7 separate regions of the Homo sapiens genome follow, and regions 2, 3, 4, 5, 6 and 7 are each linked to region 1. The links are contacts of gene promoters, found by promoter capture Hi-C in blood cells and fetal thymus (Javierre and others, 2016). All regions are on one chromosome and are shown on one strand. Each heading gives the region's core, a stretch centred on a gene start or on the middle of the fragment in contact. The rest is flanking DNA. Distances are from core to core; before and after follow the strand shown.

Region 1 (4,074 bases), core at 436-2,935:
TGCTGGGATTACAGGCATGAGCCACCGCGCCCGGCCCTATTATTACACTTTTCCTTTATCATTTTAAAAATCTTCATTTTTTTTAAAAGAGACAGGATCTCGCTAAGTTGTCCAGGTTAGTCTTGAACCCCTGGGCTCAAGCGATCCTCCCAAAGTCCTGGGATTGCAGGCCTGAGCCACATACTGTATGCACATTTTTTTTCTTTTCTTTGAGATGGAGTCTCGCTCTGTCGCCAGGCTGGACTGCAGTGGCGCGATATCGGCTCACTGCAACCTCTGCGTCCAGGGTTCAAGCGATTCTCCTGCCTCAGCCTCAGGAATAGCTTGGACTTCAGGTACGCGCCACCACACCGGGCTAATTTTTTATATTTTAGTAGAGACGGGGTTTCACCATGTTGGCCAGGATGGTCTCGATCTCTTGACTCGTCATCCGCCCCCCTCGGCCTCCCAAAGTGCTGGGATTACAGGCGCGAGCCACAGCGCCCGGCCCACGTTTTCTTTATATGCATTTTGCTAAGAAAAGGCATTCATGAGTTTCTTCCGGGGTTGAGAACTGAAACAGGTTAAGAACCACAATCCTTTATTCCTGTACACACATTCTTTCTGGTTCGAGGTTGGGCCTTTACAGGGTACTTTTGGAGGGTGAAACATTTCCATCCTGTCAAGTACCTGGTAGCTATGGATGGGGGGTCTAAGAGGAGGAATCCCTTAGCTCACCCCTAAGCAAGTCAGATTTATCACAGCACAGGTCTCAAGCCCCATATAAGCAGGCTTAGGGGACTCCTTGGAGAGGAAGCTGCTTGTAGGGACAAGGGCCGTCAGGAGAGCTTGAGCTTATCAAGCCACTAACCAGCTGTGTGACCTTGGACAAGTTCCAGACCCTCTCTGGGCTCCTGAACCCATTCCTTACCAAGCCATTAACCAGCTGTGTGACCTTGGACAAGTTCCATACCCTCTCTGGGCTTCAGTTTCCACATCTACACATTGGCAGTGGAGCCACATGGCCTTACGGATCCCTCCCAGCCGAAAGCAGGGTACCAAGCCGACCTAGCCATTAAAGCAGCTTCCTGTGGGCGCGGCGCAGGACTTCAACAGTCCCCCCTCCCCCGCTCAGGCCCGCGAAAACCTCGCGCAACACGCCCCTCGGAGCGACGGCGCTTACCCAACCGCAGCCCCAGCGCTCGAACCCAGCTCCGCCTCTTCCCGGGGGCGTCCCATCGTGCCCCGCGCCGGGCTCCTAGGGTTGCCGGGCACCTCCCGCCTTCCCGCGCCCCGACCCCGAACTCCTCTCCTTAGTTCTCCCGGGCACCCTATCCTATCAACGCCTACTATCCCAGCCAATCGCGCAGGATCCGAGTCGTGCCTCCGGTCCACCCTCCTCCCAGCGCTCAGCCGGTCTGAGCTCAAGGCCTTTACCAAGCCCACCCAATCAACGGCGGGCTCTCTCCTACCCCATCCCAATCTCCCTCCCCTCGGCCAATCCGCGCGCTCCATTCCGCTGCCCGCCCAGCCAACCCGGGCCTTGAAACCAGCAGGCGAATGGGCGCGAGACGGCCCTTCGACGCTGAGCGCCTGGCCAGTTAGGGATTCCGCGTGGCCAGGACAACGGCCAATCGTCGTGGAGCGCGGCGCCTCCGCGGAGAGGTCCGGTCCGAATATCCCTCCGCCTTCCTCCCTCCCTCGCTCCCTCCCTGCGCGCCGCCTCTCACTCACAGCCTCCCTTCCTTCTTTCTCCCTCCGCCTCCCGAGCACCAGCGCGCTCTGAGCTGCCCCCAGGGTCCCTCCCCCGCCGCCAGCAGCCCATTTGGAGGGAGGAAGTAAGGGAAGAGGAGAGGAAGGGGAGCCGGACCGACTACCCAGACAGAGCCGGTGAATGGGTTTGTGGTGACCCCCGCCCCCCACCCCACCCTCCCTTCCCACCCGACCCCCAACCCCCATCCCCAGTTCGAGCCGCCGCCCGAAAGGCCGGGCCGTCGTCTTAGGAGGAGTCGCCGCCGCCGCCACCTCCGCCATGGAGCTGATCACCATTCTCGAGAAGACCGTGTCTCCCGGTAGGACGCAGGAGCCGGGGGTAGGGCTGAGGTGATTGGGGTGGGGGAGGGGAGGCCCGGCCCCTCTGACCCCGCTCCGTCTCCCACTTTCCTCCCCCTAGATCGGCTGGAGCTGGAAGCGGCGCAGAAGTTCCTGGAGCGTGCGGCCGTGGAGAACCTGGTGCGTGCTACCCCGCCGCGCCCATCCCGCCGCGTCCCCATCCCCTGCGTGCGGGGCCTTCCCGCCCTCCCGGAGGCCCAGGCCTCGGGAACCTACCCCGCCCCATCCCGTCCCCCTCCCCCCTCCCCCTCCCCCCCCAACCCGGTCCAACCTAACCCCGCCATCGGGAAGCCGGTGGGTGTGTCCCGCCCCGGGCCTCGCGACTGGCCAATGGCTTGGCGCGCCGAGCTGCCTGCCGCCCAATCGTTGCGCGGCCTGAGGGCGGCGGTGCAGCGGGAGGGAGAAAGAGGGAGGGAAGGGAAGTTAGGTTGCGCGGCGCTGCGTGTTCAGCAGGGGTGGGGGCGGGGGAGTCGGGCCTAGGGGCCATGTGGAAGCTCCGGGCCCGGCCGCCCGCCCTGTCTGACCCCGGCCGGCTTCTCCTTCCTATCCCGTGGCCCCTGTGGCTCTCCCCACCTATTTCCTAGAGCTCTGCCCTTTCCTAGCTACCTTGGTCTGTACTCATGGCCAGGCCTGGCACCCGACTGCCTCTTAACCCATTTCCACTGATATTTTTCCCTCTTTGCTCGGTTATTCCTCTCTTGGGGTTTTTTCTTTTTCTTTCTTTCTTTTTTTTTTTTCTTCTGACCTGGATGAATAGAGACCTAATCACTAGGGATCTGCACCCAGAAAACAGACTGAGGCTCATCTTTGAGATGGGGCCTGTTTGCTGATGAAATCACAGGGGAAAGTTCCTCGTTTTTCATATTTTAAAATTTAAGGGGTCCGGAGAAAATGAAGCTAAGTCCGCTAGAGACTGGTCCTTTGTATAAAAATGTGGGATGGATTGGTTGAAACAGCCTAGATGCCAGTTAAGTTTCTCTTTGGTGTCCATCTCCTGTTGGGGGATGGGGTCAGAGGGAAGGATTGGATGATGCTTGACATCTTTGAGAAAGGTAATAGGAATTAAGTCTGAGTAACACTAACCATATGTGTTCCTTTGTGTTATATAGGCAAAATGTCAACATCAACAAAGTGACAAGGCTTATTTTATACAGACTGCCTTTGAATGATTTTTTTGTTGTTTTTCATATGTGCCAATTTTTACAACTAACCTGTTTATCCTTTCCTAGAAGAGATTTTTCCACTAGTATAGGCTGATAATTCCATTTAGGGTATTATTCCTGTTTCTGCTTTTGCAAATTTTGCAAAAAGCTTTTTATCTTATTCCTAACATTCTTAACATTCTTTAGTGGTACATAATTAATAAAACTTTTAAGAATTATCTTCTGCTGTGATTGCAGAGCTTGTTAGCAGTAAGAAAAATGTGTCTGCTTTTGACTTTTCCTGCTAACTTTGCTGTTTGGGCACGGTTTTTGGTGGAGAGGTGTGTGTGTGCTAAATTTTTAAACAAAGGGAGTAGTTTTTGAGGCCTGTGGATTACAAAAGGTTACAAAAGAACATGCTTTTCAGGGATCCACTGTATTCCTCAACTAAAGTCCAAATGTAAAGGAGCAAGTAATTGTTGATCATTAGATACAAAGTTATTTTGCTTGAACAGCTTGCCTGAAGATTTTTTCTTTCACTTTTTCCCTATTTCTAAATATCTTATCACTTTTCCTTATAAATCTGCTTTTTTCATTGTTCCCTTTTTGCTGAGTGCCCACAAATAAAACGGAGGATGAGGCTCCTAAGTTTGTTTTAGGCTTATCTGTATTTCCCCCTCTCATAAAAGATCACCTCCTTCCATGGATTGAAAAGCTACCCTGCTGCTGCCATGAGATGGAAAGTTGGATCATTCTTTTGGGACCAAGGTTTTTGAAATTTAGATAAACAGTTTTATTTTCTACCCCCCATCATAACAGCCATTCATTTAACAAACATTGA
Region 2 (4,074 bases), core at 598-3,097, 370 kb before region 1:
TCCTGCCTCCGTCTCCCAAGTAGCTGGGACTACAGGTGCACGCCACCACACCTGGCTAATTTTTGTATTTTCAGTAGAGACGGGGTTTCACTAGGTTGGCCAGGCTGGTATCGAACTCCTGACCTCAGGTGATCTGCCCACCTCAGCCTCCCAAAGTGCTAGGATTACAGGCATAAGCAACTGTGCCTGGCCCATCTTAACCATTTTTAAGCATACAGTTCAGTGGCATGAAGTACATTCATAATGTCATGAAACCCCTCACCACCATCTATCTCCTTAACTCTTTTCATCTTGTAAAACTAAAACTCTGTACCCATCAAAACAGTAATTCTCTATTCCTCCCAGTCCCTGGAAACTACTATTCTACTTTTTGACTCTATGATTTTGATTGCTGTTAAGTACTGAAGGAGGGACTGTTATTATGTTCGTGTTACAGCTGAGGAAACTAGGCTTGGAGGAATTAGGTGACTTGCCTTAGTAAGCAGTTGTAAGTGCAATGCTGAGATTTACTCCTGTGCTCTTAGCCCTGACTCTCTCCTGCCTCCTTACACTGCCTTTCCCTATCACATTTGTGGTAAGTCCTAGGTCGGATGCTGGGAAATGAGAGGGGCCAAGACACACACAGTCCCTGACTACATGGATCTCACAGTCTAGCCCGTGTCAAATACAGTAGCTTCCAAACTGTTTTGACTCTGACCTACAGAAAGAAACACACTGTACTGGGTATAGTTATTTATTATATGTGTTATTCTCCACTCTCCTCCAACAATATAAGAATTTCACAAAACAACCCTTTGACTATTTGTACACTTTCATATTTTCTATTCTATTCTATTGTATTTTATTTAACAAAATGATGGTTGACACCTGCTAAATTGATTTTGGGACCCACAAATGTGTGGTATTCCACAGTTAAAAAATGCTGGTCTACCAGGCATCTTACTGTACAGGCTCTCCTTCTAGCTACAACTCCATGAATAGGCCTTCTTGATATCTCAATTTCTCTTTTCTTTTTCCTTTTTTTTTTTTTGGTAGAGACGGGGTCTAGCTATGTTGCCTAGGCTGGTCTTGAACTCTTGGCCTCAAGCAGTCCTCATGCCTTGGCCTCCCAAAGTATCAATTTCCCCTTTCTGTACAACGGTCCTAAGGGATTATCCCAGGAAAGACCACAACAATTTGTTTATGCTCCAATGTACGGGGTAAACTCTTAGCTATTGGGAAGTGGTAGGGCCTGCAGGAGGTAGAGAGTCGCCATAGCTCTGATTGCTGGACTTCTCTTTGGGCTCCTGTCTTACAGGCCCTGCCTCTGGGCTCACCTCGCTGTGACCTGAAGGAGAATCTGCTGAAGGATAACTGTGCCCCAGAATCCATCGAGTTCCCAGTGAGTGAGGCCCGAGTACTAGAGGACAGGCCCCTCAGCGACAAGGGCTCTGGAGACAGCTCCCAGGTCACTCAAGTCAGTCCCCAGAGGATTGCACTCCGGCTCCGGCCAGGTAGGGCTGGGACTCTTTGCGGGGAGAGACCTGAAGCAGGTGGGCATAGAGCACAAGGTGGAGGTCTGAGGAGGAAGTCTTGGGGAAGTAGCTCAGAATGGAAATGGGGTGGGAAGACAAGGATGAGGGGGGAGGTGTGGGCAAGAGAATGGAAGAAAATAAGAGACGTTAGGACTTGAGTCAGAAGATCTGAGGTGAATCTTTACTGTATCATATATTAGCTATTTGACCTTGGACAAGTTACTTAACCCTTCAGACATAGTAGGTGCTCAAAAAATATTTGTTTCTTCTTTACCCAAGTGCCTGTTTTACCTAGCTTAGAGCTTTGTGTTGAGGTGCAAATGAGATATAGAACAAGAAAGCGACTTGTAAGCCCCCCTTTCATGGGGAATTGGGACAGGGGAATGGGGGCAGACACAATAGGTACACAAGACCTTTAGAGGGAGGAAGGGTTAGACTAAAGACAGAAATTTTGAAGCATTGATTTTGACTTTCCAACTAAGTCAAGAAGGATTTACCTACTATCAAGGCATGTGTTGGATGCAATGGGATTCAGAGAAGGGTAGGGTGCAGTTTCTGTCTTTTACAGAGTCTGAAGTGTAGTAACTATCAAAATCTCTGTGACTCACAGTGATAGACCCGTGGAACTCACAGGATTAGAAATCCCCTGGGATTTAGAGAAAGTGGAAAATTTTAGAATGGAAAAGAAGAGGTTAAAAATAGGAGGGTCAAGAGATTAGAAGAGTAATAGAATTGCAAAGGAAGAGGAAAAGGGACCAGGGCTTTCTGGTTTGCTTTGATCATGCAATTTCTTAGTCCCAACTGTATCCAAATCTGCTTATTCAATCTTGGTGGGAGAAGAAGATAAAAACTAACATCTTTCTGCCTTCCAGATGATTCGAAGAATTTCTCCATCCAAGTGCGGCAGGTGGAGGATTACCCTGTGGACATCTACTACTTGATGGACCTGTCTTACTCCATGAAGGATGATCTGTGGAGCATCCAGAACCTGGGTACCAAGCTGGCCACCCAGATGCGAAAGCTCACCAGTAACCTGCGGATTGGCTTCGGGGCATTTGTGGACAAGCCTGTGTCACCATACATGTATATCTCCCCACCAGAGGCCCTCGAAAACCCCTGCTATGAGTAAGTCCCTCCTCCAGACGCCAGGACAGCATCCTTTGCCCCAGGAAGGTCCAAGTCCTGGTTCCTATTTCTAGCTCTAGGATCACTTTGTTGGCTGTCTTCTTGCCAAACTATAGCTCCTTTCTACCTTGGTCTCCCTGTTTGGCAAATGGGCTAGCTTGTGGATCTGGAGTGTTGTGTCAATGGAGCCTAAGGCTGTTTGGAGAACCTAGAAAGAAAATTCATCAGCTTCTCAGTCTTGGTAACAAATAAATAGAAGGCAAGAGAGAATGGGAGGGAAATGACGTCAAAAGTAGAAAGAAATTTATGGATAAGGAAACCGAGAAATTACGATTACAGAAGGATCGATTCCATTGTTGGCATTATTGTCTTCATCAAGGCCGTGCATCCTGCAGGGTGAAAACAGAAGAAATGAAGTGCTAAGGAATATAAAAGAGTGGAAATGACATTTGTTGGACACTTTTATAGTCTGTAAATGGATAACTTGTGCCTCTGTTTGACACTTTGGCTTAAAACTGAATGGCTTATTTATTTAATCGGTGGAGACTGTGCAAATCCATGTATTAGAATAACTTACAATGCTGGTTGCTGAGCCTGAAAAGGTGTGAATTTACTTTTTAGTTTTCAAAGTTACGGCCAGGTGGGGTGACTCACTTCTGTAATCCCAGCACTTTGGGAGGCCAAGATGGGAGGATCACTTGAGCCTAGGAGTTTGAGTTCAGCCTAGGCAACATAGTGAGACCCCCATCTCTACAAAAATTACAAAAAAATTAGCTATGTGTGATGGCGCATGCCTGCAGTCCCCAGGACTACAGGGAGGCTGAGGTGGGAGGATTGATTGAGCCTGGGAGGTTGAGGCTGCAGTGAGCCATGATTGTGCCACTGCACTCCAACCTGGACAATGGAGCACAACTGTCTCTAAAAAAAAAAGAAAAAGTTTTGAAGTTATATGATGTGGCATTCAACCTTCTATCTGGGTTGTAAGGTTCCCAGGCAAGACATCAGCTATTAATTAAACACACTATTTTGACTGGGGGCAGAAATGCTCCTGTCTTGCATGATCTATCAATTTATTGATGGTTCAGGGACCTTAACTTACTGATGGACTTTTGCTTTATTGTTACTTTAGGAAAGTGTTAAGTATAAGGTGATAGTAATAGCAACTCGAGCCTCGCTCTGGTCTAAGTGCTTTGTGTGTATGAACTTACTTAAGTCTCACAACTCTTATGGGATATGTGCTATCCTGGCCCCTCTTTCATAGGTTGGATTGAGAGGCTTGCCAAAGGTCCCATGACTAGTACAGAGGGCACCTGGGATCTAAGCTCAGGGAGTCTTGTTTCCAGCTCAATCTCTTATCTTCTAGGTTAGCTGGATGGGGGTAATGTTGATGGGGAGCTTCAGATAATTTGAGGATTTTGGAGTCTGAACTGTCTGG
Region 3 (4,074 bases), core at 1-2,500, 330 kb before region 1:
TCTGGCCTCCAGAAACTTGGGATGATAAATTTGTGCTATTTAAGCCACTAAGTTTGTGGTAATTTGTTACCACAGCATAGGAAATGAATACAAATATCAAAGTGTTTGTGGACATATTTTAAGACTACCTCAGGCAACCCTCTGGTCACAAATTATTTATAGTTCTCCCACATGCAAAATAAACTTACCCCTTCTAAGGCCCCAAAGTCTTATCCCATTATAGCATCAATTCAAAGTTCAGAATCTTATCCTCTACGTAAGTCCAGGGAAGATGAGACTTCTTGGGTGTAATTCCTTAAATACAGCTACTCAAGTACATGCTTTTCAATCTGAAGTTCTGCGAACAAAAAGAAAAAGGTCATATGCTCCTTTCCCCACAGCAACCAATGTAAAACAGCAGGGGCAGGGAGATAACTGCTATAGACACTCCTGTTCCAACAGGTGGAAACCAAGGTGCACAGAAGTCACTGGTTCATAGCAATTCTGAAATCCATTTGAGTACAGGTTTGCAGTTCTACACTCAAAGCCTGGGAATAACTCCCTATGGCTTTTGGTTCCACCTTCTGGGCTCTTGGTTTTATCCTCTAAGTCATCCTTTTTTGTGTGAAAGGGAGATGTGTTTGGACCTAAATAGTTTTCTTAGCCTGCTTCCTGTTTGTAGAAATGCGTTTGTAGAAAGGGTCCAAAGGCCCCTTTCCTTTTTGTACTCTTTTTCAGCTCAAGCTGACAGTATTTCTGACAATACAATTCTCTTAAAACAATTTTTGAATCTACTGTGAATCTTACTGGGTTTTAGTCCAGGAGACAAAAGCCATGGCAGCAAATACCTTTGAGATATGTCTTTTTCTACCTTGGGCTTCTGCTGAAGGACAAAGACCTTAAGTTTCTTAGAAGCCCTATTGTTTGAATGAGAGGACCTGTGAGCCATACTCTTAAAATCTTTTTTCTGAGACGGAGTCTTACTCTGTCACCGAGGCTGGAGTGCAGTGGCGAGATCTTGGGTCACTGCAATCTCCGCCTCCCGGGTTCAAGCAATTCTCCAGCCTCAGCCTCCTGAGTAGCTGGGATTACAGGCACCCGCCACCACGCTCGGCTAATTTTTTTGTATTTTTGTAGAGATGAGGTTTCACCATGTTGGCCAGGCTGGTCTCCAACTCCTGACCTCAGGTGATCCACCCACCTCGGCCTCTCAAAGTGTTGGGATTACAGGCGTGAACCACTGCACCCAGCCACTCTTAAAATCTTTAGAGAGTCTTTGCCTGATTGAACAGTACTCCGAGGTACCATCCTTAAACACAACAGGCGTGGGGAGTGGGAAAGCGGGTGATGGAGGGTGGATTGAGGGGTATTTACAAAAATAAAAGACATGGTCTCAGCACTCAGATATTTCAGAATCTTTGGGGAGATAAACTATATACATTTAAAAAGCACTAAAGAATTACAGGTCATATCCCTAATGAGTATAGATACAAAAATCCTCAACAAAATACTAGCATACTGACTTCAACAATACATTCAAAGAATAATTCACCATGATCTAGTGGGATTTATCCCTGGGATGCAAGTATGGTTCAACATATGGGAATCTATAAATGTGATACACCACATAAACAAAAATCATATGATCATTTCAATAGATACATAAAAAGCATTTGATGAAATTAAACATCCTTTCATGATGAAAATTCTCAACAAATTAGGTATAGAAGGAACGTACCTCAACACAATAAAGGTCATATATGATAAGCCTACAGCTAACATTCTCAACAGTGAAAAGTTGAAGGCATTTCCTTTAAGATCAGGAACAAGAAAAGGATGCCCACTCTTACTGCTTTTTTTTTTTTCAACATAGCACTGGAAGTTCTAGTCAGAATAATTAAGCAAGAGAAATAAAAGGCATCTTAATAGGAAAGGAAGCATTGGAATTTTCTCTTTGTTGACAATATGATCTTATATATAGAAAACCCAAAAGACTCCACCAAAAAACTGTTAGAACTAATAAAGTCAGTAAAATTGCTGTACACAGTCAACACACAAAAATCAGCAGCATTTCTAGAGGCCAACAACAAATCCAAAAAAGAAATTAAGAAAATAATTCTACTTATATTAGCAAAAACCAAAACTGAAACAAAAAAGGTGTAAATTTAACCAAGAAAGTGAAAGATCTTTATACTAAAAACTAAAAAACACTGATGAAAGAAATTGGAAAAAACACAAATAAACGAAAAGACATCCCATGTTCTTGGAGTGGAATAATTAATATAATTAAAATGCCCATGCTACTCAAAGTGATCTATAGATTCAATGCAATTCCTATCAAAATTCCAGAGTTATTTTTCATGGAAATAAAAAAATCCTAAAATTCATATGGAACCGTAAAAGATCCCAAATAACCAAAGCAATCTTGAGCAAAAAGAACAAAGTTGGGCCAGGTGTGGTGGCTCACGCCTGTAATCCCAGTACTTTGGGAGGCCGAGGCGGGCAGATCATGAGATCAGGAGTTCAAGACCAGCCTGGCCAACATGGTAAAAAAAAAACCCCGTCTCTACTAATAATACAAAAAAATTAGCCAGGCGTGGTGGTGCGCGCCTCTAGTCCCAGCTACTTGGGAGGCTAAGGCAGGAAAATCACTTGAACCCAGGAGGTGGAGGTTGCAGTGAGCCGAGATTGTGCCACTGCACTCCAGCCTGAGAGACAGAGCCAGAATCCATCTCAAAAAAAAAAAAGCAAAAAAAAAACAAAGTTGAAGGCATCACAGTCCCTGACTTTAAAATAAACGACAAAGTTACAGTAATCAAAACAGCATGGTATTCCATAAAAACAGATGCATTGGCCAATAGAACATACTAGAGAGTCCAGAATTTACAGACAATTGAATTTTGATAAGGAGCCAAGAACACTCAATGGGGAAAGGAATCTCTTTGATAAAAACTGTTGGGAAACCATATATCCATGTGTAGAAAAATGAAATTGGACCCTTATCTCACACCGTATACAAAAGTCAAAATGGATTAAAGACTTACCTGTAAGACTGGAACTACTAGAAGAAAACATAGAGGGAAAGCTACTAGAAGAAAAAATAGAAGAAAGCCACTAGAAGAAAACAGGCGGAAAGCTCCACTACATTGGTCTGGGCATTTTTTTGGACATGACCTCAAGAACACAGGCGAGAAAACAAAAAATAAACACATGGAATTACATGAAACTAAAAACTTCTGCACATCAAAGGAAACAGTTAACAGAGTGAAGAGACAACCTGCTGAATGGGAGAAAATATTTACTAATTATACATCTGACAAGAGGTTAATATCCAAGATATACAAGAAACTCAGTAGCAAGAAAGCAAATAACCTGATTTTAAAAATAGACAAATAATCTGAATAGACTTTTAAAAAAAATTTTTTTTTGTAGAGATGAGGCTTCACTATGTTGCCCAGGCTGGTCTCAGATTCTTGGGCTCAAGCGGTCCTCCCACCTTGGCCTCCCAAAGTGCTGAGATTATGGGTGTGAGCCACCATGCCCAGCCTGACACAGCCATTCTTAAAAGAAGACATACAAATGGCCAACAGGTTTGCGAAAAAAAAAATCACTATTATTAGGGAAATGCAAAATAAGATTACAATATCACCTCACACCTGTTAGCATGGCTATTAAGCTGGGTGTGGTGGCTCACACCTGTAATCTCAGTACTTTGGGAGGCTGAGGTGGGCAGATTACTTGAGGGTCAGGCGTTTGAGACCACCCTGGCCAACATGGTGAAACGCCATCTCTACTAAAAATACAGAAATTAGCCAAGTGTGGTGGCACATGCTTGTAATCCCAGCTACTTGGGAGGCTGAGGCAGGAAGATTGCTTGAACCCAGGAATGGAGGTTGCAGTGATTTGAGATTGTGCCACTGCACTCCAGCCTGGGCAACAGAGTGACTCAATCTCAAAAAAAAAAAAAAAAAAAAAAAAAAAGAATTGCTATTATCAAAATGATGAAAAAAATGTGTTGCTGAGGATGTGGAGAAACCTTTTACACTGTTAGTGTTATTACAGCCATTATGGAAAACTATATGGAGGTTTCCCAAA
Region 4 (4,074 bases), core at 543-3,042, 330 kb after region 1:
TAGTATAAATAATAATAATGGCTAATATTTCCTGAGCATCTACTAAATGCAAGGAATTGTGCTTGGTGTGTCATGTGGATTCTCTCTTGCATCTTCATGATAAATGTTATTGTCGCTGTTTTACCGATGAGGGTTGGATTAGAGGGGTTAAACAACTTGTCTTAGGCTCCACAGCTGGGAACAAGTGGGGCTGGGAAGCTGACTTCGTGCTCTTCACCACCACAAAGGATGTGTGTGCATCCTGGGGCATGCCTGCCTCATGTGGGGGTGTCCTGGGCTGAATTTCCTGGGCACTTCTCAGTGGAACTCTCTAGCCTCCTGGTTCGGAATGTCAACTATGAGATCCCCTCACTGAAGAAGCAGATTGCCAAGTGCCAGCAGCTGCAGCAAGAATACAGCCGCAAGGAGGAGGAGTGCCAGGCAGGGGCTGCCGAGATGCGGGAGCAGTTCTACCACTCCTGCAAGCAGTATGGCATCACGGTGAGCGGCGGCAGCCTCTTCGCAGCCAGAGGACACCTGGGCCCCTGCTTGTCTTCCTCTGACCCCGTCTGACCCCTCAGCCTGGTTGCACCCCCTTTGGGCCAGTGTCTTACTTTTCTTCGGTCTTTGGATGTTTTCTTCAATCTGTTGGACTCCACCTCTTCTCCCCTCTCTAGGGCGAAAATGTCCGAGGAGAACTGCTGGCCCTGGTGAAGGACCTGCCGAGTCAGCTGGCTGAGATTGGGGCAGCGGCTCAGCAGTCCCTGGGGGAAGCCATTGACGTGTACCAGGCGTCTGTGGGGTTTGTGTGTGAGAGGTAGAGAGGCCTCAGCTTCTCCTGGTGGGGGTGCTTTGCCTGTGTTCCCCAGCTCATGACCCTTCTCCAGTTGTCTTGTTCCCATATAACATTTGAACTCTTTACACACCTGAACCTGTGGGGGCCTTGCCCATTTGACCATGTGGCCCAGGCCAAAGCCCAGTGTTGGCCTTACGCATGGTCGGCAGGAGAGTCAGTTGTGTGCTCTGTTGAAGCCCCACAGAGCAGGTGTTGCCAATGCTGCGGTTCGTGCAGAAGCGGGGAAACTCAACGGTGTACGAGTGGAGGACAGGGACAGAGCCCTCTGTGGTGGAACGACCCCACCTCGAGGAGCTTCCTGAGCAGGTGGCAGAAGATGCGGTAAGATGGGCCTTGTGATGAGCTGTAGGAGTGGAGTGGGAGCTGCTTGTCCCCTCCCCACCCCCAACAGCCCAACCCAAGACCCAGAGAGAAGAAGGGAGGATTTCTGTGAGAGTGACTGTAGGTAGAAGGGCCCAGGAGGCCCTACTCCTTTATTTTTCTGAGTATAGGTGAGTGAGTGCCACAGAGGCTTTGCAAGGTGGTTCGCTTTGAACTCGGAACCTCCATCATGTGAGCTCTCTGAAGATGGGCTTTCTTTGGGGTAGCTTAGAGGCCACTGCATTTGAACAGTGTGCTCTCTACAGAAGCAGCTGAGGCCTGTGGGAAGGCAGCCCCACCCTCCTTTTTAAATTAATTTATTTTTGAGACTGGGCCTTGCTCTGTTGCCCAGGCTGGAGTGCAGTGGCATGATCCTTGCTGACTGCAACCTCTGCCTCTCAGCCTCAAGCGATCCTCCCAAGTCAGCCTCCAAGATAGCTGGGATTACAGGTTTGCACCACCACTCCTAGCTAATTTTTTATTAACATCTTTGTAGGGACAGGATTTTGCCATATTGCCCAGGCTGGTCTCAAACTCCTGGGCTCAAGCAATCCACTATCCTCGGCCTCCCAAAGTACTGGGGTTACAGACATGAGCCACCATGCCCGGCCCTTTTTAAATCCATCTTCCATGAGCTAACACTCTCTTTCCCTTTCCAGATTGACTGGGGCGACTTTGGGGTAGAGGCAGTGTCTGAGGGGACTGACTCTGGCATCTCTGCCGAGGCTGCTGGAATCGACTGGGGCATCTTCCCGGAATCAGATTCAAAGGTGAGGAGGCCTTCTCAGTCTGTCTCTCTCTGATCACTACTCTAACCATAAGAAAAGTGTCATTTGTGTCTGTAACGGCATCACTTGAAGTTCATAGCTCTAAGACCAGGTATAGTCCAAGGGAGGCAGAGTTTCACACGTCACATGTCAGAGTTTTGTTTTGTTTTTTGAGACAGAGTCTCATTCTGTCGCCCAGGCTGGAGTGCAGTGGTGCAATCTCGGCTCACTGCAACTTCCGCCTCCCAGGTTCAAGTGATTCTCCTGCCTCAGCCTCCCAAGTAGCTGTGATTATAGGCGCCCACCACCACACCCCTCTAATTTTTTATTTTGTTTGTTTGTTTGTTGAGACAGAGTCTCACTCTGTCGCCCAGGCTGGAGTGCAGTGGCATCATCTTGGCTCACTGCAACCTCTGCCTCCCGGGTTCACGCCATTCTCCTGCCTCAGCCTCCTGAGTAGCTGGGACTACAGGCGCCCGCCACCACGCCCGGCTAATTGTTTTGTATTTTTAGTAGAGATGGGGTTTCACCATGTTAGCCAGATGGTCTCGATCTCCTGACCTCGTGATCCGCCCGCCTCAGCCTCCCAAAGTGCTGGGATTACAGGCGTGAGCCACCGCGCCCGGCTAATTTTTGTATTTTTAATAGAGACAGGGTTTCGCCGTGTTGGCCATGCTGGTAACTCCTGACCTCAGGTGATCCACCTGCCTCGGCCTCCTGAGGTGCTGGGATTACAAGCGTGAGCCACTGCGCCCAGCCCATGTGAGAGTTAAATTTTGATGTCCTTTTTCTTGGTGTTTGGTACAGGGTGTAGGGGTAAAGGCAGGTGGGAACACTACAGAGCAGGGATGATGGGCCATACTGCCATTTTTGGCACCTAAGTCAGGGCTGCAAATCCTTAATAGAGTTGGAATGTGCAGCCATTGACCTCATCAAGGGCTTTGGTTTATTCTGGCTCCTTGGCTCAGGAAAATTCTCCCCCCATTGCTGTGGTTCTTTGCTCTCCTTCCAGGATCCTGGAGGTGATGGGATAGACTGGGGAGACGATGCTGTTGCTTTGCAGATCACAGTGCTGGAAGCAGGAACCCAGGGTAAGTGCACCATCCCCTGCAGCCCTGGCAAAAGTGGGGTGCTCAAGGGCCCCCACGTGTCTAGAAACAAAAAATGCAGCGCTAAGATGAGGCTTCTTGCACATTTAACTGTTTCTCAAAACCTTGATGAGGATGTGAGCTGAGGGGGACCAAGAGAGGTTTTTTTTTTTTTTTTGGAGACGGAGTTTCGCTCTTGTTGCCCAGGCTGGAGTGCAATGGCATGATCTCAGCTCGCTGCAACCTCCACCTCCTGGGTTCAAGCTATTCTCCTGCCTCAGCCTCCCGAGTAGCTGGGATTACAGGCATGCACCACCACGCACAGCTAATTTTATATTTTTTTAGTAGAGTTGGGGTTTCTCCATGTTGGTCAGGCTGGTCTCGAACTCTTGACCTCAGGTGATCCACCTGCCTCGGCCTCCCAAATGCTGGGATTATAGGTGTGAGCCACCGTGCCTGGCCCAAGAGAGGTTCTTAAAAGTTGAGAGTTTAGAAACTCTCAACTTTTTAGAGACCACATGTGGGCCAGCTGTTATGGTAGGAGGGCTCTAGGGGGATCGGGGCCCTGGAGTGTGACATGACCCCCGCCCCAACAGCAGAGAAGACGTAGTGGTGTCTGAGCCACTAGAGGGCGGTGCAGGATGAAACTTTACCTCCTGCGGTCCACCAGAGCAGAGAGCCGGCCTTTCTACCCCTCTGAACCCAGCTCTGGTCCTCCTCTCAGTCTGGGAGTTGGAAAGTGGTACCTGATTAGAGCTGAGACACCTGGGACAAGGTAGCCTTCCCCCTTGGATTAGAACAAGAAGTGGCTTTAGCACAGTGAGTCTGTCCGTATTAATCCTCCAGGGCTTCTCACACTTGAGGGTCTTTTCCTTCTCCAGTCCTCTGATCCTTTATCACTTCTCTGTCTCTTCCTGGCAGCTCCAGAAGGTGTTGCCAGGGGCCCAGATGCCCTGACACTGCTTGAATACACTGAGACCCGGAATCAGTTCCTTGATGAGCTCATGGAGGTACTGTCATCTCT
Region 5 (4,074 bases), core at 564-3,063, 300 kb after region 1:
GTTGGTTTTTTTTTAGACATGGGGTCTCTCTATGTTGCCTAGGCTGGTCTCAAACTCCTGGGCTCAAGCAGTCCTCCCACCTCAGCCCCCAAAGTGCTAGGATTACAGGCCTGAGCCACTATACCCACCTTCTCCTTTTTCTTAAACCAAAGCTGTGGGGTATGGTGGAGTTCCTTATAAAGGAAGGGGGAAGGAAACCAGTATTAAACTGAGCACTTACTATGGGACCTCTCATAGGCCACTTAATACTGACCACTCCCTATGAGATAGGTATTATTTCAGCCCCCTTTTACAGAAGAGGAAACTGAGGCTCAGAGTACAAGCAAATGTTCCCAAGGTCACCCAGCTACTAAGGGGTAGAGCCCGAGTTTGAATCTTAATCCCAAACCAAACCACTGAAACTTTGGGGTCAATCACCAAAGGTCTGCCCTACTCTCTTAGAGCACCTGACGGGCTCTCTGTTGACTGGAGAGAACTGACCACTGAGGTGTAACTAGCTCCTTCTGCTGCCCCATCCCCATACTAAGGCTAGTTTGATGGTAAAAATTAGTGACCCAGTTCCTACATTGTCACACCTGGGAACCCTTCCTGAAGCTTGAAAGGAACAGTTTGAGCACAAAGGTCCACTTTACTTACATGAAGGAACATAAAGGCATGAGAAACAGTCATCTCAATAAATGCAAGACATGAGCATAAAAGAGGTTCTCTGCCTTTCCAGCGTTGTTATTACAGAGAGAAACCTACAATTATTTTGTTAAACAAAATTCAAGGCTCCAGGACTCATCTCTGGAGCTGATATGTCTTAAATACTATTATAGTAGGAAAGGGAGAGGAGAAAATTCCCCACCCACTCCCCCGATTTGGCCCGTGTAGCTTCCCTTTGAGGGTGTGTGACTTGCCATCTGCAAAAGTCATGGCCAAAACAGGAACTAACAGGCCAAACTACCATCAATCTAGTCTTCTACAGCACCCTAACAGAGTGCCAGGGTCCTCTGTCCCCTCCGCACCTGAGGGCAAAGTTCCAGGAAGTTTACTGCCGGTGTTAGGAGGTGAGCTCAAGTTCAGTGTCTCTGCCTCTGGCTCCACAGAAACCAGCCCCTATCACGTGGCTTCTGGAAAATGTGCCCTCCTCAGGATTGGTCCAGGGAGTAGTCACAGGTAGAGAAAGTAAAGGGAGCAGCAATTGAAACTCGCCCTTGACCCTGTGTCCAGTAAGGAGGTGAAGTCTGTCTGGCTCACTCTCTCCATTCCCTGCCATGCCCACCTCCCTGCTGGCCCTGCCATTGCTTCAAGGAGGGCTGTTCCTCCTGGGTGAGACTTTTCACTCTTGAACTAGAGTGCCTTTGTATGTGGTCAGGGGGAGGGTGGAGGACCCTGGGATCTCCCAGGCCTTACAAAAGTGGCGGCACATAAATACAAACCTAAAAAACAGCCATTTCCTGCCAGCAGGTATCAACTGGCCCCACAGCTTCAGCTATGGCCAAAGAGGCCAGCGTGGCAAGGTCCTGTCTCAGATCTGGCTGATGGCAGGGAGCCAAGAGGTGCTAGCACCCTCCTCAGCCCTTCACTTTGATGACCGTCCTTCCTCGTGATCATCAAAGAGGTTAGGGTTCTCTGCCAGCGTGGCTCTCACTTTCTTCTTCTCCTTGAAGCGTCCTGAGTTGGAGACCTTGACGTGCTTGCCCTTTGTGCTCTTGTCCACAATCTTCTCCAGGCGGGTGTTAAAGTCGCTGTTGGGGCCTCCAGCGTCAGGCCTCGGGGGTTCTGCATCTCCCTCTGTTTGGGCATAGGTGTCAGGGATCTCATACAGCACTTTGGGAGTGGATTTCTTTTTCCGGAGGAAAGTCAGCTTCCACCAACCAATTTCAGTCGTCATGGCGCTCCCTAAGCCAAGGATGGGGCTTTCTGCTGGAGCAGGGTGGGGGAGACAAAGGGGTCAGTGGGAAAAGGGGGTGGGTGCCTTTGGACCAGCTTGCTGCAGACTCCTAATCATGGGCTGTTTTAAGAATTAAATAAAGGGCTGGGCGTGGTTCTTCATGCCTATAATCCCGGCACTTTGGGAGGCCAAGGCAGGTGGATCACCTAAGGCCAGGAGTTCAAGACAGGCCTGGCCAACATGGTGAAATCCCGGCTCTACTAAAAATACAAAAATTAGCTGGGCGTAGTGGCACGCACCTGTAATCCCAGCTACTCGGGTGGCTGAGGCAGGAAAACCACTTGAACCCGGGAGGCAGAGGTTGCAGTGAGCTGAGATCATGCCACTGCACTCCGGCCTGGGTGACAGAGTGAGACTATCTCAAAAAAAAAAAAAAAGAAAGAAGAAGAAGAAGAAGAATTAAAGAAAGAATTTAAGGTAGGGCTGAATAAACCCAAGATTCAGGTCAGTGGGGTGACACAATGCTTTTGGAGAGTGTGAGACAAGAAAAGGGTCAAAGTCAAGGTCAAGACAGGGAAGCCACTCGCCAGACAGAGAGGCAGTGGGACAGGCACACACCATTGCCCTGCAGGGTTGTCAGGAGCTTTGAGATAATTCCTGCCAGGCCCCTCAGGGCCACAGGCAGGTGGACAGCTTGCCTGAGTCACACAGCATCCAGGCCTTTGATGCTCTTCCCAAACTTCCCACTATACCACCAGACCCTGCTGCCAGGCATGGGCAGACCATTGACTGGTAGCATAGGGAGGGAAACACCCTGTGCATTTTGCTTGGAATTCATTACAAAATTAAATATAATTAGTGGCATTCCAAGCAATTTGAACTTCCCAGTGGTGACCAGCAGGGCTAAAGTAACTGCTGGGCTGTTCCTAAGGCAGGAGTCAGATCCTCAGGCTGGGAGTGGGAAGTCCTGGGGGCTGTCCTAGCCTCATGACCACTGGCAAGCCACCACCTCTCTGGGCCTCAGTTTCCTCACCCATCCCATCCAGCACTAGCATTTAGCTCTACTGTTAATCCCTGCCCACAGAGGTAACCATGCATTGCAAAGTAAAACTTACGATAATGGGAATAATTACTAAGGGATGGTTCCCTTTCCCCACCAAGCTTCCACAAGGACAGGAGTTGGAAGGGGAGCTAAAAAGGCAGAAAGCAGTTAGAAGGATCCCAGAAGTACAGGGGAGACATGGTCATCACAGGTTGTACCTTGCAGGGTGGGGCTTGGGGCTGAAATCCAGGCTTCTCCACTCACAGGCCATGTGTCCTGCCATGGAGCTGCCTTCCCTGGGGGCTCACCTTTGACTAATTTCCACAAAGGTACTATATGAGCTAGCGGAACTTCTCGGAGAGGAGGTTGCCTGGACATCATTGATTGCTGGGGTATGTAAGATAGAAGCAGATGACAGTCTGCTAGATGAAGGAAGATCAATGACAGAACAGGTAGAGGAACACTGATGACTGGTGAGGTCGGTGGTCTTGTTCTCAGGATGCCTAGCTGCCGGCTGTGAAAGCTCCCAGGAAGGAAGGCGCAGCCAGTGTACACCAGAAAGCTAGAGGGTATCACCTCCTTTTAAAAACTGGAAGTGTTCACTCCATTTTTGAAAAAGACCAGAAAGACACTCCAAATGATGTGCCTTTTTTTTTTCTTTTTTTTTTTTTTGAGACAGAGTCTTGCTTATTGCCCAGGCTGGAGTAAAATGGCATGATCTCGGCTCACCACAACCTCCACCTCCCAGGTTCAAGCGATTCTCCTGCTTCAGCCTCCCGAGGAGCTGGGATTACAGGCATGCGCCACCACGCCCGGCTAATTTTGTATTTTTAGTAGAGACGGGGTTTCTCCATGTTGGTCAGGCTGGTCTCGAACTCCTGACCTCAGGTGATCCACCCACCTCGGCCTCCCAAAGTGCTGGGATTACAGGCATGAGCCACTGTGCCCAGCCCAATAGTGCCTTTCTTTATGTAGGAGTAGAGGATGCTTTCTCTTCTCTAGTTTTCTGATTTCTGGAATTTCCATGATGAGTATAGATTATTTTAGGGGTGGGGGAGCATATCAAATTTAGGAAAGAGGAGAGCACGACGCAGGCCTAGACTTTACGATGAGCTGAATGCCTGCATCCATACCCCTCGTGCTCTGGTCTCCTGCT
Region 6 (4,074 bases), core at 802-3,301, 300 kb before region 1:
CATTACAAAACCTGGATTATACTGCCCCAATATTCAAACATTCTATCTCTGATCTCTAGTTTTCCTGCACATTAACTGCTAGACTAATTCTCTTAAAATACTATTTTCACCATGTCATTTTCCTGCTCAAGAATTTAGATGCTCTTCCTATTATCAAATGAATCTATAGAGGCCAAACTCTCATGCTTAGCCTCCTCACCCCTTCATAATTTTGTTCACCACTCTTACCTTTATCACAGAACCTTTCCCAGGCAAGAACCACATACTCGTTAGTCATAAATCTCCATACATGCCAATATAATTATTACTCCCACGCCTTTGTTTGTGTGTGTGTGTGTGTTTTTTTTTCTGTTGAAATCTCTCATCTGTTTTCTTCTTCATCCTTAACAGTACTTTCTTCCTTTTGCCAGGAGTCTTGTTTGTATCTCTTCCTAAAAATTTCAGATACTTATGGGTCTCCTAGTAACCTTTAGTTTACATTACCTATACATTATAAATAAAGTGGTTGGAAAGGGTATTCGTATTAATGGTAGAAACAGTACCTCCAAAAACATGAAATCTGTGGTGTTCATGACCTGATGTTAGCAATTCTTCTCTTCCTCCATTAGGCGATATCAAGTTCTTATGCTCGGTCCTTGGAATTATATAATTTTATTTTTTATTTGTATAAATTTAAGGGGTGCAAATGCAGTTTTGTTACAAGATATATTGCATCCTGGTAAAGTCTGGCTTTTAGTGTAACCATTATTCGAATAGTTATATATTTTACTTATTAAGTAATTTTTCATCCTTCACCCCCTTCCCACACTTCCAAGTCTCCAGTAACTATTATTTCATGCTCTATGTCCATGTGTACACATTTGGCTCCCACCTATAAATTTGGCTCCTACCTATAAATGGCTTTCATTATCTTAAGTGAAACAAGTCAGAAACAGAAAGTCAGATAGTTAATAGTTTCATCCATGTTGCTGTAAAATATGTTATTTCATTCTTTTCTGTGGCTGACTAGTATTCCACTGTGTGTGTGTGTGTGTGTGTGTGTGCGCGCGCGCGCGCGCGCGCGCGCCACGTTTTCTTTATCCAGTCATCCATTGATGGACACTTAGGTTGATTTTATGTCTTTGCTATTGTGGATTGTGCTGTGATAAACATATGAGTGTAGGTATCTTTTTGAGATAATGGTTTCTTTTCCTTTGGGCATATATACCTAGTAGTGGAATTGTTGGATCATACAGTAGTTCTATTTTTAGTTCTTTGAGAAATCTCCACACTGCTTTCCATTTTTTCATAATGCTCGTTTGGCCATTTATATATCTTCTTTTGAAAAATGTCTATTCATGTCATTTGCCCACTTTTTAACAGGATTATTTGTTGCTTTTGTTGTCTTTGATCTGTTTGAGTTCTTGGTACATTCTGGATATCAGTCCTTGTTGGATGCATAGTTTGCAAATATTTTCTCCTATTCTTCAAGTTGTCTGTTCATTCTGTTGATTATTTCTTTTGCTGTGCAGAAGCTTTTTAGTTTAGTTGTCTCATTTGTCTTTTTTTGTTGTTGTTGCTTGTGCTTTCGAGTTCTTAGTCATGAATTCTTTGCCTAGACCAATGTCAGTAAGAGTTTTCCTTGGGTTTTCATGTAGTTTTTTTTTTTTTTTTTTTTTAGATGGAGTCTCGCTCTGTTGTCCAGGCTGGAGTGCAGTGGTGCGATCTTGGCTCACTGCAAGCTCTGCCTCCTGGGTTCACACCATTCTCCTGCCTCAGCCTCCCATGTAGCTGGGACTACAGGTGCCCGCCACCACGCCTGGCTAATTTTTTTGTATTTTTAGTAGAGACGGGGTTTCACCGTGTTAGCCAGGATGGTCTCGATCTCCTGACCTCATGATCCTCCCACCTCGGCCTCCCAAAGTGCTGGGATTACAGGCGCGAGCCACCACGCCCGGCCTCATCTAGTATTCTTAAAGCTTCAAGTATTACATTTAAGTTTATATCCATCTTGAGTTGATTTTGTATATGGTGGGAGATAGGGGTCCAGTTTCATTCTTCTGTGAATGGCAATCCAATTTTCCCTTTACCATTTATTGAAAAGAGTGTCCTTTCACCAGTGTATGTTTTTGTCAACTTTGTCAAAGATCAGGTGGCTATAGATATGAAGCTTCATTTCTGGGTTCTGTTTTCTGTTCCACTGATTTATGTTTCTACTTTTATAGCAGTACCATGCTGTTTTGGTTACTATTATAGTATAATTTGATGTCAGGTAATGTGATGTCTCCAGCTTTGTTCTTTTGTTTAGGATTACATTGGCTATTTGGGCTCCTTTAGTTCCATGTAAATTTTAAGATTATTTTTTCTATTTCTGTGAAAAATGACATTGGTATTTTGATGGAGATTGCACTGAATCTGTAGATTGCTTTGGGCAGTATGGTCATTTTAATGATATTAAGTTTTTGATCCATGAGCATGGGATGTTTTTCCATTTGTTTGTGTTCTCTATAGTTTATTTCATCACTGTTTTGTAGTTTTCCTTGTAGAGATCTTTCACCTCTTTGGTTAAATGTATTCCTAGGTACTTTGTTTTTTGTAGCTAAGCTAAATGGCATTGCCTTCTTGATTGGTTCTCAGCTTGATACTAGTGTATAGAAATGCCACCGATTTTTGTATGTTGATTTTATCTACTTAAACATTACCAAATTTGTTTATCAAATCTCAGGGTTTTTTGGGAGGAGTCTTTAGGGTTTTCTCAGTATAAGATTATATCATCAACAAACAGACATAATTTGACTTCCTCTTTTCCAACTTGGATGCCTGTTACTTTTTTTTCTCTTGCCTGATTGCTCTGGCTAGGGCTTCCAGTAATATATTCAATAGGAGTGGTGAAAGTAGGCATCCTTGTTTTGTTTTGGTTCTTAGGAGGAATGCTTTAAACATTTCCCCATTCAGTAGGATGTTGGCTGTGGGTTTGTCATGTATGGCCTTTATTATTTTGAGGTATGTTCCTTTTATAGTGAATCAGATTGTATATTTATTTATTTATTTATTATTTTTTTTTATTTTTTGAGATGGAGTCTTGCTGTGTCATGCAGGCTGGAGTGCAGTGACACAATCTTGGCTCACTGCAACCTCTGCCTCCCGGGTTCAAGGGATTCTCCTGCCTCAGCCTCCCAAGTAACTGGTACTACAGGCATGCACCACCATGCCTGGCTAAATTTTTGTATTTTTAGTAGAGATGGGGTTTTACCATGTTGGCCAGGCTGATGTCGAACTCCTGACCTCAAGTGATCCGCCTGCCTTGGTCTCCCAAAGTGTTGGAATTACAGGTGTGAGCCACTGCACCCAGCCCAGATTTTATTTTGTTAGAATCAAGGATATGTGAATGTGATAGTCTTTATAGAACTGGATTAGCAAGTAAAGGGCAATAAAAACTCTTCAATACTTATTTACTCATTTATGTAATAAACATTAATATGCCTATATATGCAGCAGTGAACAATATAGATATGATGCTTGGCTTGCTTTTTCTTTTTGGCATTTTGATAGACTCCATGGCATTAGGATTTTCCTGGTTCTCTTTTATCTACTTGGTTTTTGACTTACATTTTTTTTCTTGTTTCAGTTTCATGTAGTTCTTCTCTGATCTTGGTTATTTCTTTTCTTCTGCTGGGTTTGGGTTTGGTTTGTTCTTGTTTCTCTAGTACCTTGAGGTGTGACCTTAGATTGCCAATTTGTGCTCTTTCAGACTTTTTGATGTAGTCATTTTATGCTATTAACTTTCCTCTTAATACTGCTTTTGCTGTATCCCAGAGGTTTTGATAGGTTGTGTCACTATTATTGTTCAGTTCAAAGATTTTTTAAATTTCCATCTTGATTTCATTGTTGACCCAGTGATTATTCAGGAGCAGATTATTTAATTTCCCTGTATTTGCATAGTTTTGAGGGTTCCTTTTGGAGTTGATTTCCAGTTTATTTCACTGTAGCAAGAGTACTTGCTGTAATTTTAATTTTCTTAAATTTGTTGAGGCTTGTTTTGTGGCCTACCATATGGTCTATCTTGGAGGATGTTCCATGTGCTGATGAATAGAA
Region 7 (4,074 bases), core at 798-3,297, 280 kb after region 1:
AGACAGAGAAGATAGATGTACTCGGAAAACTTTCCAACTGACATCCAAACGCAAAGACGGCTTCTTGAAGGAGAAAGCCTTGCGTTAAGGTTGGAAGAAAAGAAGGGAGCCCTGGCAGTCAGAATAGTTTGTGCTGCACTTCAGTTCAGTGGTGAGATTTATGCTGTGAAACCAGCCTTGCAAATAACCAAAGGAAAAATTGGAGCAACCTAGCAAAAATGGCTCCTTATGTAGGGGGAGCTCTCTGAATTTCTCTTCATCCTTAATGAATTTTTTTTTTGAGACAGAGCCTCACTCTGTCGCCCAGGCTGGAGTGCAGTGGTGCGATCTCTGCTTCAGCCTCCCGAGTAGCTGGGATTATAGACGCCCACCACCACGCCCGACTAATTTTTGTATTTTTCGTAGAGATGGGGTTTCACCGTCTTGGCCAGGCTGGTCTTGAACTCCTGACCTGGTGATCCATCCGCCTCAGCCTCCCAAAATGCTGGGATTACAGGTGTGAGCCACCGTGCCCAGCCCATCCTTAATGAATGTTTAGCACTTTAACACATTTGCTTTTCCCTCTTGAGGTGACCCCCAAGAGGATAAGGCATCCTAGAGGATCTGATTTTTCCCAAAGCCCATAGAACTGTGTCCTCTTTTGTGTTTTTTGGTTTTTTTTTTTTTAAGACATGGCCTCAGGGCCTCGCTCTGTCATCCAGGCTGAAGTGCAGTGGCACGATCATGACAATGCAGCCTCAGCCTCCTGGGCTCAAGCAGTCCTCCTACTTCTTCTTCCTGAGTAGCTGGGACTACAGGCATGTAGCACCATGCCCGGCCAATTTTTTAGTTTTTTGTAGAGATGGGGGTCTCCCTATATGCCCAGGCTGGTCTTGAACTCCTGGGCCCAAGCAATTGTCCTGCCTGCCAGAGTGCTGGGATTACAGCTATGAGCCACTGTACCTAGCCTGTGACCTCTTGTCTTTTTAACAGAAATCCCTGGAGACTTTCCTAAAAGCAGAGTTGGTATCTCACAGGGGCCTAAGGTTGGAGGAGATTCAGGAAGAAATGTCTTAAGACCCTTCCCAGCTGAAATCATGTTGGCAATATTCTAAAGCAAATTCTGCCTACATAGTACAGTGGTTCAGGGCACTGACTTTGAAATGGGCTTCCTGGGTTCAGATCTGGGTTCTACCACTTACTAGCTGTGTGATCTTGATATGTTATTGAGCCTCAGTTTCTTCATCTGTAAAGTGCTGATGATAGTACCTATTTTATAGGGTCATGGAGATTAAATGAGTCCCTGTACAAAGGTCCTTAAAATGATATCCAACATACAGCAGGCTCTCAAAAATAGCTGCTGTGATTATCATCTTTGTCATGTGCAGAAGGGCAGAAGGGTTGACTCGAGGTTTCAGGCTTCCTCACCCTGAACTCTGCCCCTCTTTGTCCCCACAGGGCAGCAGCAGCTGACAGTGCAGAATGTTTCTGGGAACAACCTGACCATCAGTGGGCTGAGCCCCACCCAGATCCAGCTGCAAATGGAACAAGCCCTGGCCGGAGAGACCCAGCCCGGGGAGAAGCGGCGCCGCATGGCCTGCACGTGTCCCAACTGCAAGGATGGGGAGAAGAGGTAATTCAAGGAGAAGGCCCAAGCCACAAGGCTGGCCTGTGTTCCCCAAGCCCCTCCTGGACAGTTGTCCAGAGCTGCAAGCTGGCACAGACCAGGCAAGGAAGAGCTGGCAGCTCTGTGCCACCTTGCCCCCTGCCTCCTTGTGCTCTCTGACCTGACCCCACATCCTCACTGCATCCTGTTCCTGCCCCATCCTCTACCGCTTTTCTCTCCTCTTCCTATTCCCTCCACTCCACCCTCACCCCAATTCTCAGGTCTGGAGAGCAGGGCAAGAAGAAGCACGTGTGCCACATCCCCGACTGTGGCAAGACGTTCCGTAAGACGTCCTTGCTGCGTGCCCATGTGCGCCTGCACACTGGCGAGCGGCCCTTTGTCTGCAACTGGTTCTTCTGTGGGAAGAGGTTCACACGGAGTGACGAGCTCCAACGGCATGCTCGCACCCACACAGGTCAGCCCCCTGCCTTCGGGACCCTCCACCCACAGAGGTCAAATTCCTGCCTCTCCTCCCACCCCCACTCTACCGGCTTTAGCAACATTGACACTCCTGGAACTGCCACACTGAGCAAAAGCTACAGACTATCTAGGGACGACATAGGAAATTATTTTCAAGCCATTCTGTTATCACTGTTGTTTCCCCAAGTAATGGGAAAGGAATAGTTGTCATTGCATGACACAACCTGATAACTTTTGCCATGTCAGCATAGTTATTTAACAAACACTGACATGGTATGCCAAGCACAGTACTAAGCACTTTACTGATTACCTCAGTTGATCCTGGTAAGAACTTTATGGGAAGATACTTTGTTTATGCCTTTTTTTTTTTTTTTTTTTTTTTTTTTTGGAGATGGAGTTTCGTTCTTTTGCCCAGGCTGGAGTGAAGTGGTGCGATCTCAGCTCACTGCAGCCTCCACCCCTTGGGTTCAAGCAATTCTCCTGCCTCAGCTTCTCAAGTAGCTGGGACTACAGGCACCCACCACCACACCCAGCTAATTTTTGTATTTTTAGTAGAGACGGGGTTTCACCATGTTGGCCAGGCTGGTCTCGAACCCCTGACCTCAGGTAATCCACCCACCTTGGCCTCCCAAAGTGCTAGGAATAGAGGCGTGAGCCACTGCGCCGGCCTGTTGATGCCCATTTTACTGAGGCATGGAGAGCTGGCCCAGTCACACAGCTAGTGACTGGTGCGGCCAGGTTCACACCCAGGCCCTGCCATGGCTTTTTGTTTTTTTTTTTTTTTAAGACAGGGTCTCACTCTTTCACCCAGGCTAGAGTGCAGTGGCACAATCTTGGCTCACTGTAGTGTTGAACTCCTGGGCTCAAGTGATTCTCCCACCTCAACCTCCTGAGTAGCTGGGACTACAGGCATGCACCACCACACCTGGCTAATTTTAAAATTTTTTTAGAGACAGGGTCTTACTGTGTTGCCCAGCCTGGTCTCAAACTCCTGGACTCAGATGATCCTCCCTCTTCTGCCTCCCAAAGTGAGATATCACAGTTATAGTTTTAGGTACTAGCAAATCAATGCAAAACTATTAAAAATATTGATCCAAGCTGGGCACAGTGGCTCACACCTGTAATCCCAGCTCTTTGGGAGGCTGAGGCAGGTGATCACTTGAGCCTAGGAGTTCGAGACCAGCCAGGGCAATATAGCGGGAGCCCATCTCTTAAAAAAAAAAAAGGATTATACATCTACCACCTGAAATTGTCCTGGGTATCCACAGTGGTCCACACATACACTTTGGCAAACAGTGCTATAGTGAATGCCCACAGTGAGCAGACACCTGTCCTGGGGCTAGAGGGCTGAGGGAAGCGTGACCCAGAGCTCCGGCTCCTGGCCAGTGTGGTGGGACAGGTCCTACTCCCCAAAAGGCAGAGGAGTCAACACTCCACAGAAAAGCAGTTGGGGTCAACATGGTTCCAACTGAGTGCTCAGGGCTGGCAAGGTCAGGGTGGAGGGGGATTTTCCTGTGATGGGGAGGATGCTGATCCAGGTTCAAAGTCAGAGGGACAAAAGAAGAAAGCAGGCAGACAGCCTTGCACAGGAAGACTCTTAGGTGCAGAGGCTCCAGGGACAAGGAATGGGAACGAAATAGACTGGAGAGGTCAAATGGGGGGTCAGAGAGAAATGAGAATTGATAAAGAGATTTAGATGAGTAGGGGCCAAGCATGATGGCTCGTGCCTGTAATCCCAGCACTTTGGAAGGCCAAGGTGGGCGGATCACTTGAGGTCAGGAGTTCGAGACCAGCCTGGACAACATGGCGAAACCCTGTCTCTACAAAAATACAGGAATTAGCTGGGTGCAGTGGCGGGCATCTGTAGTCCCAGCTATTTGAGAGGCTGAGGCAGGAGAATTGCTTGACCTGGGAGGTGGAGGTTGCAGTGAGTGGAGATTGTGCCACTGCACTCCAGCCTGGCCAGCAGAGTGAGACTCCATCTCAAAAAAAAAAAAAAAAAAAAAGAT

Evidence for each region. The method cuts DNA at HindIII sites, captures the fragments that hold promoters and counts their contacts. A CHiCAGO score of 5 or more calls a contact.
Region 2: a contact is called between a fragment that was not itself captured here and the fragment with the promoter of KPNB1 in region 1, in 1 of 17 cell types (erythroblasts). The highest score is 5.1, in erythroblasts.
Region 3: a contact is called between a fragment that was not itself captured here and the fragment with the promoter of KPNB1 in region 1, in 4 of 17 cell types (erythroblasts, naive B cells, megakaryocytes and 1 more). The highest score is 10.5, in erythroblasts.
Region 4: a fragment that was not itself captured here is called in contact with the fragment with the promoter of KPNB1 in region 1 in 1 of 17 cell types (neutrophils); the score reaches 5.0 in neutrophils.
Region 5: a fragment that was not itself captured here is called in contact with the fragment with the promoter of KPNB1 in region 1 in 1 of 17 cell types (neutrophils); the score reaches 5.1 in neutrophils.
Region 6: a fragment that was not itself captured here is called in contact with the fragment with the promoter of KPNB1 in region 1 in 4 of 17 cell types (erythroblasts, total B cells, megakaryocytes and 1 more); the score reaches 8.3 in erythroblasts.
Region 7: a contact is called between a fragment that was not itself captured here and the fragment with the promoter of KPNB1 in region 1, in 1 of 17 cell types (neutrophils). The highest score is 5.2, in neutrophils.

Annotation. Positions count from the first base shown.
Region 1 is chr17:47,648,234-47,652,307 of GRCh38, forward strand. It overlaps KPNB1 (karyopherin subunit beta 1), which reads left to right and starts at 1,686. Exons shown (of 22, transcript NM_002265.6): 1 at 1,686-2,051; 2 at 2,153-2,211. The coding sequence starts at 2,012. KPNB1-DT (KPNB1 divergent transcript) reads right to left here and starts at 1,195. Exons shown (of 4, transcript NR_171700.1): 1 at 1,163-1,195. RefSeq lists an enhancer at 1-686 and silencers at 1,087-1,356, 1,367-1,416, 1,427-1,606, 2,037-2,106, 2,217-2,356 and 1 more. The HindIII fragment of the contact is 6,441 bases long and covers 1-3,400 here.
Region 2 is chr17:47,282,057-47,286,130 of GRCh38, forward strand. It overlaps ITGB3 (integrin subunit beta 3), which reads left to right. Exons shown (of 15, transcript NM_000212.3): 3 at 1,298-1,493; 4 at 2,387-2,639. Among named protein-coding and RNA genes, the nearest start is that of ITGB3, 30 kb to the left of the region's middle. The HindIII fragment of the contact is 5,999 bases long and covers 1-4,074 here.
Region 3 is chr17:47,318,284-47,322,357 of GRCh38, forward strand. EFCAB13-DT (EFCAB13 divergent transcript) reads right to left here. Exons shown (of 3, transcript NR_110880.1): 2 at 189-337. Among named protein-coding and RNA genes, the nearest start is that of EFCAB13-DT, 3.6 kb to the right of the region's middle. The HindIII fragment of the contact is 6,957 bases long and covers 1-4,074 here.
Region 4 is chr17:47,974,858-47,978,931 of GRCh38, forward strand. It overlaps CDK5RAP3 (CDK5 regulatory subunit associated protein 3), which reads left to right. Exons shown (of 14, transcript NM_176096.3): 6 at 302-480; 7 at 657-796; 8 at 1,012-1,156; 9 at 1,855-1,965; 10 at 2,975-3,053; 11 at 3,972-4,060. Among named protein-coding and RNA genes, the nearest start is that of CDK5RAP3, 5.8 kb to the left of the region's middle. RefSeq lists an enhancer at 542-1,042. The HindIII fragment of the contact is 8,194 bases long and covers 1-4,074 here.
Region 5 is chr17:47,951,359-47,955,432 of GRCh38, forward strand. PRR15L (proline rich 15 like) reads right to left here. Exons shown (of 2, transcript NM_024320.4): 2 at 609-1,905. The coding sequence starts at 1,876. The coding sequence ends at 1,565. Among named protein-coding and RNA genes, the nearest start is that of PRR15L, 4.5 kb to the right of the region's middle. The HindIII fragment of the contact is 2,443 bases long and covers 593-3,035 here.
Region 6 is chr17:47,350,263-47,354,336 of GRCh38, forward strand. All of the region lies in intron 9 of EFCAB13 (EF-hand calcium binding domain 13), which reads left to right. Among named protein-coding and RNA genes, the nearest start is that of EFCAB13, 28 kb to the left of the region's middle. The HindIII fragment of the contact is 191 bases long and covers 1,957-2,147 here.
Region 7 is chr17:47,923,482-47,927,555 of GRCh38, forward strand. It overlaps SP2 (Sp2 transcription factor), which reads left to right. Exons shown (of 7, transcript NM_003110.6): 5 at 1,438-1,612; 6 at 1,867-2,060. All of the region lies in intron 1 of SP2-AS1 (SP2 antisense RNA 1), which reads right to left. Among named protein-coding and RNA genes, the nearest start is that of SP2-AS1, 16 kb to the right of the region's middle. RefSeq lists an enhancer at 3,888-4,074. The HindIII fragment of the contact is 7,634 bases long and covers 1-4,074 here.